Linked DNA regions of Homo sapiens: region 1 is linked to region 2. Evidence: promoter capture Hi-C in human tissues and cell types (Jung and others, 2019). All regions are on one chromosome and are shown on one strand. Each heading gives the region's core, a stretch centred on a gene start or on the middle of the fragment in contact. The rest is flanking DNA. Distances are from core to core; before and after follow the strand shown.

Region 1 (3,316 bases), core at 683-3,182, 1.1 Mb before region 2:
AATGTCCCTTGAAACAGTTATGCTAAGTGAATGAAGTTAATCTCACAAAGAACACATAGTATATGATTCCATTCCAAGTCTACAATGGGAAAGCTATATAGCAACTGAAAGTAAATTAATGGTTGCTTAGGACAGAGGCTTGGAGGAGGAAGATGGGAAGATAGGACAGTGACAGCCAAAGGCTACAGGGGTTTCCTTTTTTTTTCCTTCCTTCCTTCCTTCTTTCCTTCCTTCCCTCCTTCCCTCCTTCCCTCCTTCCCTCCTTCCCTCCTTCCCTCCTTCCTTCCTTCCCTCCCTCCCTTCCTTCCTTCCTTCCTTCTGACAGGGTCTCACTCTGTCACCCAGGCTGGAATGCAGGATCACAGTTGACTGTAGCCTTGACCTCCTGGGTTCAAACAATCCTCGGGCCTCAGCCTCCCCAGTAGCTGGGACTACAGGTGTGCACCACCATGCCCTGCTAATTTTTAAAAAATTTTCTTAGAGATGGGGGAGGGGGGGGCCTCACTATGTTGCCCAGGCTGATCTCAAACTCCTGGGCTCAAGCAGCCCTCCCACCTAAGTTTCCTAAAGTGCTGGAACTACAGGTGTGAGCCATCATGCCCTGCCCATTAGTAGGTTTGATCCAATATCTTAAGTATATTGAGTTTCCTAGTACATGCCAAATTTACATAATCTTTTGTGGTTTTTTAAATAATCTCAGTGAAAATGGAATTAATTGCCTTATCGATATCATAGCCATTTACATTTCAAAATTCTCTAGGGGCTGGGTGCAGTGGCTCATGCCTGTAATCCTAACACTTTGGGAGGCTGAGGCCAGCAGATCACTTGAGCCCAGGAGTTCAAGATCAGCCTGGGTGAGATAGTGAGATGCTGTTTCTACAAAATAAAAATAAAAAGAAAGAAAGAAATTAGTCAAGCATGGTGGCACGTGCCTGAGGTTCCAGCTACTCAGGTGGCTGAGGTGGGAGGATTGCTTGAGCCCAGAAGGTCGAGGCTGCAGGGGGCTCTGATTGCACCACTGCATTCCAGCCTGAGGGACAAAGAAGGGCCCTGTCTCAAAAACAAAAACCACAAACCAAACAAACATAAAGGATCCACAAAAGTTCTCTAGGGACATAGTCAAAAACTGGTCCGAAATAAATATCCTTCCAGTGTTCAGTTTTACTGAACACATCTCATGGCTTTGGGTTTAACTGAATAATTCCTCACTGGGCACGGTGGTTCATGCCTGTAATCCCAACACTTTGGGAAGCCAAGGAGCATCACCTGAGCCCAGGAGTTCGAGACTAGCCTGTGCAACATAGTGAGACCACCCCACCACCGCCATCTCTACCGAAAAAAAAAAAAAAAGGAACTCCTTCTCTCAGACTAGGGCTGTGGGGTCCAAACTTCCCACTAGAGCAAAGTGTGGGGGGAGGGAAGGGATGGGTGACGGCCTAAACCCTGTCAGTTGTCAAAGATTAAAACGTAGTCACTCTTTGTTAGGTATGATGAGGTCACTCTGTCACTCTAAGTGTCTGTATTTGTAAACAAGAGTCAGAAATCCATGAATGGCCTCGCAGCCTTATGCTAAGTCTGGGAGCGTCTGACCCTTCCGTTCTAGTCTGGCATGGCCCGGGCGTCCTTTTTCGCTGTGGACAAAGAGCCTTTTTCTGGAAACTGAGCCTGGAATTTCCTGCGCTGTGCACGCTTGTGTCTCCGCGCTCAGAAGGAGCTGCAGGAAGACACCAGTGCCCGACCCCGGGTACGTTAACAAATTCTGCTTAGACGCAAATATCCGTGGCAGGGGAACAGATTCCTGACCCCGGACGAATGCAGGTTGCTTAGAGACGCGACTTCCCTACTAGCTGTCACTCAGGCAACGAAGGCGGGTCCAAGAGTGCAATGTCCAATCAGGGGCGCCGCCGGGAAGGCGGGCGGAGGGGCGCTGCGCAAACGGCGAGGGCGTGGCTACCAGCCGCTGCGCTCCGCTCTGGGGTCTCCTCACCCCAGAAGGCCCTCAGGTGGAGGAAGGGCCTCAGGTGGAGGTAGGACCTGTGCTGGCCGCGGGAGAGGTAAACAGAACACCAGGACATCCCAGAGTCTGGGAAATGGTAAGTGTGCGGGGCTGGGGGTCTTGAGATGGGAGAGAGGGGCGGGTTGAAACCGGCCGGATCTGGCTGTGGTGGGACCCAGGCCTCCCCGCCGTTGTCTCCCGGGTCTGTGGACCCGAGTCCTCCTGGCGCAGCTCGGCCCTCGGTCTCTTTGGCCGCAGGATGGGGCTGGGCCGGCAGCCGGGACCCCGGACGTCTTGTCAAGTCCCTGCGCGGCGACTGCGGCCCCAGTCCCGGAGCCCTCTCTGGGCAGCTCCGAGCCCGCAGCCTCGCGTCTCCCCAGATTGTGCTGGGGCACGGGAGGGTCATGGAGGGAATCCCGTCTCGGTCGTGGGGTTCGTGCGTGGGAGGAGCAGTGTTGTGTGGGGTCCTCAGTCCCTCTTTTCTTCCCAAGGGAGGACTCGTTTCTCAAGGTTTCCAAGTGTATGGGAAGCCAGATCTCAAACCCACGACCGTGTCCTCCAGCCTGGCTCTTCCCAGAGCTGGGATTAAATCCCTAAATTTCTAGATCTCTTTCAAATGCCAATGTCTTCTCTCCAGTTCACAACGTCGTTATTTCAACCAGACGCAGTATTTTAATTATCCTTTTTGTACAGAGGAATGGATGGTTCTTTTAAAAAGATTTAACGTATGCTTTGGGGTATTTATATGAGAGGAAAACAGAGGAGAAGGACTTGAAGCTACCTCGTGTAAAATGCTTGTGCCTCTCTTGCCAGTATCTCTCCTGGGACCTGACATCCTATGGGAACTCCTTTGGGTTGAGTCTCCTTTTTGGAAACTTTTCTGGGAGATCTGTCCTTTCCAGCGCAGCACTTCCCCTCCCTGGGCTTATCACCTTGAAAAGATTTACTCACTTAATTGATTCTCAAAAAATGTAAAATATACGTAATTAGGAGACCTACAGCCCAGCCAACATGGCGAAACCCCGTCTCTACTAAAAATATAAAAAATTAGCCGGGCGTGGTGGTGCACATCTGTAATCACGGCTACTCAGGAGGCTGAGGCAGGAGAATCACTTGAACCCGGGAGGCAGAGGTTGCAGTTGAGATGAGATTGCGCCACTGCACTACAGCCTCGGCGACAGAGTGAGACTCTGTCTCAAAAAAATAAAAAAATAAAATAAAATAAACCTTTAGAGTGGATGTAAAATATTTCCAAAGAGGCAAGAAAGAGATGGGTTTCAGAAAATAATAAAATATCAAGCTAGGAGCGTTGGCTCACGC
Region 2 (3,225 bases), core at 322-2,821:
AGACGGAGTCCCGCTCTGTCACCAGGCTGGAGTGCAGTGGCACAATATCGGCTCACTGAAACCTCCGGCTCCTGGGTTCAAGCGATTCTCCTGCAGCCTCCCAAGTAGCTGGGATTACAGGCATGCAGCACCACGCCCATCTAATTTTTGTATTTTTGGTAGAGATGGGGTTTTACCATGTTGGCCAGGATGGTCTTGATCTCTTGACCTCGTGATCTGCCCACCTCGGCCTCCCAAAGTGCTGGGATTACAGGCGTGAGCCACCGCGCCCGGCCTACGCCTGGCTAATTTTTGTATTTTTAGTAGAGACGTGGTTTCGCCATGTTGCCCAGGCTGGTCTCGAACTCCTGACCTCATGATCCGCCTGTCTCGGCCTCCCAAAGTGTTGGGATTACAGGTATGAGCCACCGCGCCCAGCCAATTATTATTATTTTTTGAGATGCAGTCTCACTCTGTTGCCCAGGCTGGAGTTGCAGTGGCATGATCTTGGCTCACTGCAATCTTCATCTCCCAGACTGAAGCAGTTCTCATGCCTCAGCCTCCTGAGTAGCTGGGATTACAGGCACACGCCACCACACCTGGCTAATTTTTGTATTTTTAGTAGAGATGGGATTTCACCATGTTGGCCAGGCTGGTCTCAAACTCCTGACCTCAAGTGATTTGCCCACGTCGGCCTCCCAAAGTGCTGGGATTATAGGCGTGAGCCACCGGGCCCAGCCCAAGAGAATAAAAATGTGGGTGGTAAAAATTTTTTTCCCAAAAATTCGTAAATGAAAATCTCACATATTATGCATACTGCCCAGGAGCATGGCCTAGCACTGTGCAAACACTCAACTGCTGGTCGTTGCAAGGATTATTATTGGCCGGCTTCAGTGGCTCGTGCTGGTATTCCCAGCACATTGGGAGATGGAGGCTGGAGGATTGCTTAAGTCCGGGATTTCAAGACCAGCCTGGACAACATAGTGGGATCCCATCTCTACAAAGAATTTTAAAAATTAGCCAGGTGCAGTGGGAAGATTGCTTCAGTCCAGAGGCTGCAGTGAGCTATGATTGTGCCACTGCACTCCAGCCTGGGTGACAGAGCAACACCCTGAGACAGAGAGAGAGAGGGGGAAGGAGGGAAGGAGGGAAGGAAGGAAGGAAGGAAGGAAGGAAGGAAGGAAGGAAGGAAGGAAGGAAAGGAGAGAGAGAGAGAGAGAGAGAGAGAGAGAGAGAGAAAATAATTTTTATTTATTTCCAGGCTGGGAAGAGATGCTGATTTCTGCGATAAAATCAGTAGGTACATTTTTTGGAATGTTCGCTATGTGCCAGGCTAGATTTTACAGATGAGAAGTCTGAAGCTCAGGTAAGGTAAGTCACCTGTCCAGGGCCACAAAGAAAAAAAAAACGTGTGTCTGAAGCCAGAACGGGAGCTGTTGCGGCCCAACTCCCTCCCCTGCCCCCAAGCGGCCTCTGGGCTCGGGAAGGGCCCCTGCCTCCTCCCGCCAGGCACTTATCTCTACCCAGGCTGAGTGCTGGCCCCGCCCCCTCGGGGATCTGCCACTTAGAGGCGCCTGGTCGGGAAGGGCCTGGTCAGCTGCGTCCGGCGGAGGCAGCTGCTGACCCAGCTGTGGACTGTGCCGGGGGCGGGGGACGGAGGGGCAGGAGCCCTGGGCTCCCCGTGGCGGGGGCTGTATCATGGACCACCTCGGGGCGTCCCTCTGGCCCCAGGTCGGCTCCCTTTGTCTCCTGCTCGCTGGGGCCGCCTGGGCGCCCCCGCCTAACCTCCCGGACCCCAAGTTCGAGAGCAAAGGTAAGGATGAGCTGCGTGTGGACCCCTACGCTGGAGCCTGCAGGACCATGCTGGGGCCTGAACTCCCAGCCTAGGTCCTGGGGGCCATGCCTGTTTCTGGACTTCCTGACCGGGTCCTGGGGGCCAAGCTGGCATCTGAACCCTTAGACTGGGTCCTGGATGGGTGGGGGGCGGGGTGGGGTATGTTAGGATCCAAGACTCCTGATCGCGTCCCGGGCAAGAGCTAGAGTGGGCTTAACATTCCCGTTTTACCTTTTCAGGGAGTCTGGGACATGCTAAATCCTAAGGGGGCTGACTTGGTGCTAAGGTCCCTGGGGGGTGGGGACCAAGCCGACCCTCCCTAGGGGAGGGAGGGTAAAGCCCGGGTCCGAGTTAGAGGGGCCAAGCCACAGGCTACTGTAAACACGGTTTGTGTGAGGGCGCCAGATCACTTGCCCGGCCCGGTGGAGGGAGGGAGGCGGGGGGCACGGTTGGCGCTATCGGTTGGCGGGGAGCCTGCCGGGGCCGATAGGGGGCCCGCCTCTCCGCACACACCCCCAGCCGCGCGCGTGTCCTAGGCTGGGGCGGGGCTGGCAGTCCCGAGCTCGAGGTCTTGAACGCCGCGCCCAGCTCAGCTGGCCGCTGGGTGGGCAGGTGTGCGCCAGTGGTGACGGCGGGGGACAGTAAGGCGAGAAACTTGCCCCTGGGAATTAGGGGGGCACCACCTCTGCGGACCCCTCCAAGGGACCCGCTTGGGAAGATGGCAGGGCGGGGCTTTTTTCTTATCGGGTCCGCCCAGGCTGCGGGAGGGAAGAGGAGGGGGCTGTCTCCCGAGGATAGAGCTCAGACCCCCATGCCCTTCCTTTGTCGCCCCTCCCCAGCGGCCTTGCTGGCGGCCCGGGGGCCCGAAGAGCTTCTGTGCTTCACCGAGCGGTTGGAGGACTTGGTGTGTTTCTGGGAGGAAGCGGCGAGCGCTGGGGTGGGCCCGGGCAACTACAGCTTCTCCTACCAGCTCGAGTGAGTCCGATCCGGCGGGTGCCTCCAAGGGCGGAGGGAGGGGGTGGGGCAGAGCTCCCTGGAGGTCGTAGCCTCGTATGTCCCCTGCTGTTTGAGGCCCGACGGCGCCTCCAGTCGTGGTCACTGGAGGGAAACCTGCGGGTCCAGGGCTGGCACGCCCTCTATGGGCCGGGGCGCGAACACTCCCGCGATCACCGCTGGAACGCGACCCCAAACATCAGGCTGGGATAACAACGCCTCCAAATCGAGGGTAAGGCGTTACTACGTCGGGGCTGGGACGCCTTCTCGAGGTAGTATCCAAAAGGAGGCCAGCAGTGGCTCATGCCTGTAATCCCAACTCTTTGGAAGGTCGAGGCGGAAGAACCGCTTGAGCCCAGGAGTTCAAGACCAGCCTGGGCAACACAGCGAGATCCCCGTCTCTTAAAAAAAAATTAGAC

Evidence for each region. Contacts are between HindIII fragments. The study calls those that stand out against the background at their distance.
Region 1: a contact is called between the fragment with the promoter of ZNF709 here and the fragment with the promoter of EPOR in region 2, in 1 of the 25 tissues and cell types used here (stomach).

What each region holds. Positions count from the first base shown.
Region 1 is chr19:12,483,432-12,486,747 of GRCh38, reverse strand. ZNF709 (zinc finger protein 709) reads left to right here and starts at 1,932. Exons shown (of 4, transcript NM_152601.4): 1 at 1,932-2,093. The coding sequence starts at 2,091. The HindIII fragment of the contact is 14,294 bases long and covers 1-3,316 here.
Region 2 is chr19:11,382,660-11,385,884 of GRCh38, reverse strand. It overlaps EPOR (erythropoietin receptor), which reads left to right and starts at 1,571. Exons shown (of 8, transcript NM_000121.4): 1 at 1,571-1,792; 2 at 2,653-2,788. The coding sequence starts at 1,678. RefSeq lists a silencer at 2,272-2,331. The HindIII fragment of the contact is 19,405 bases long and covers 1-3,225 here.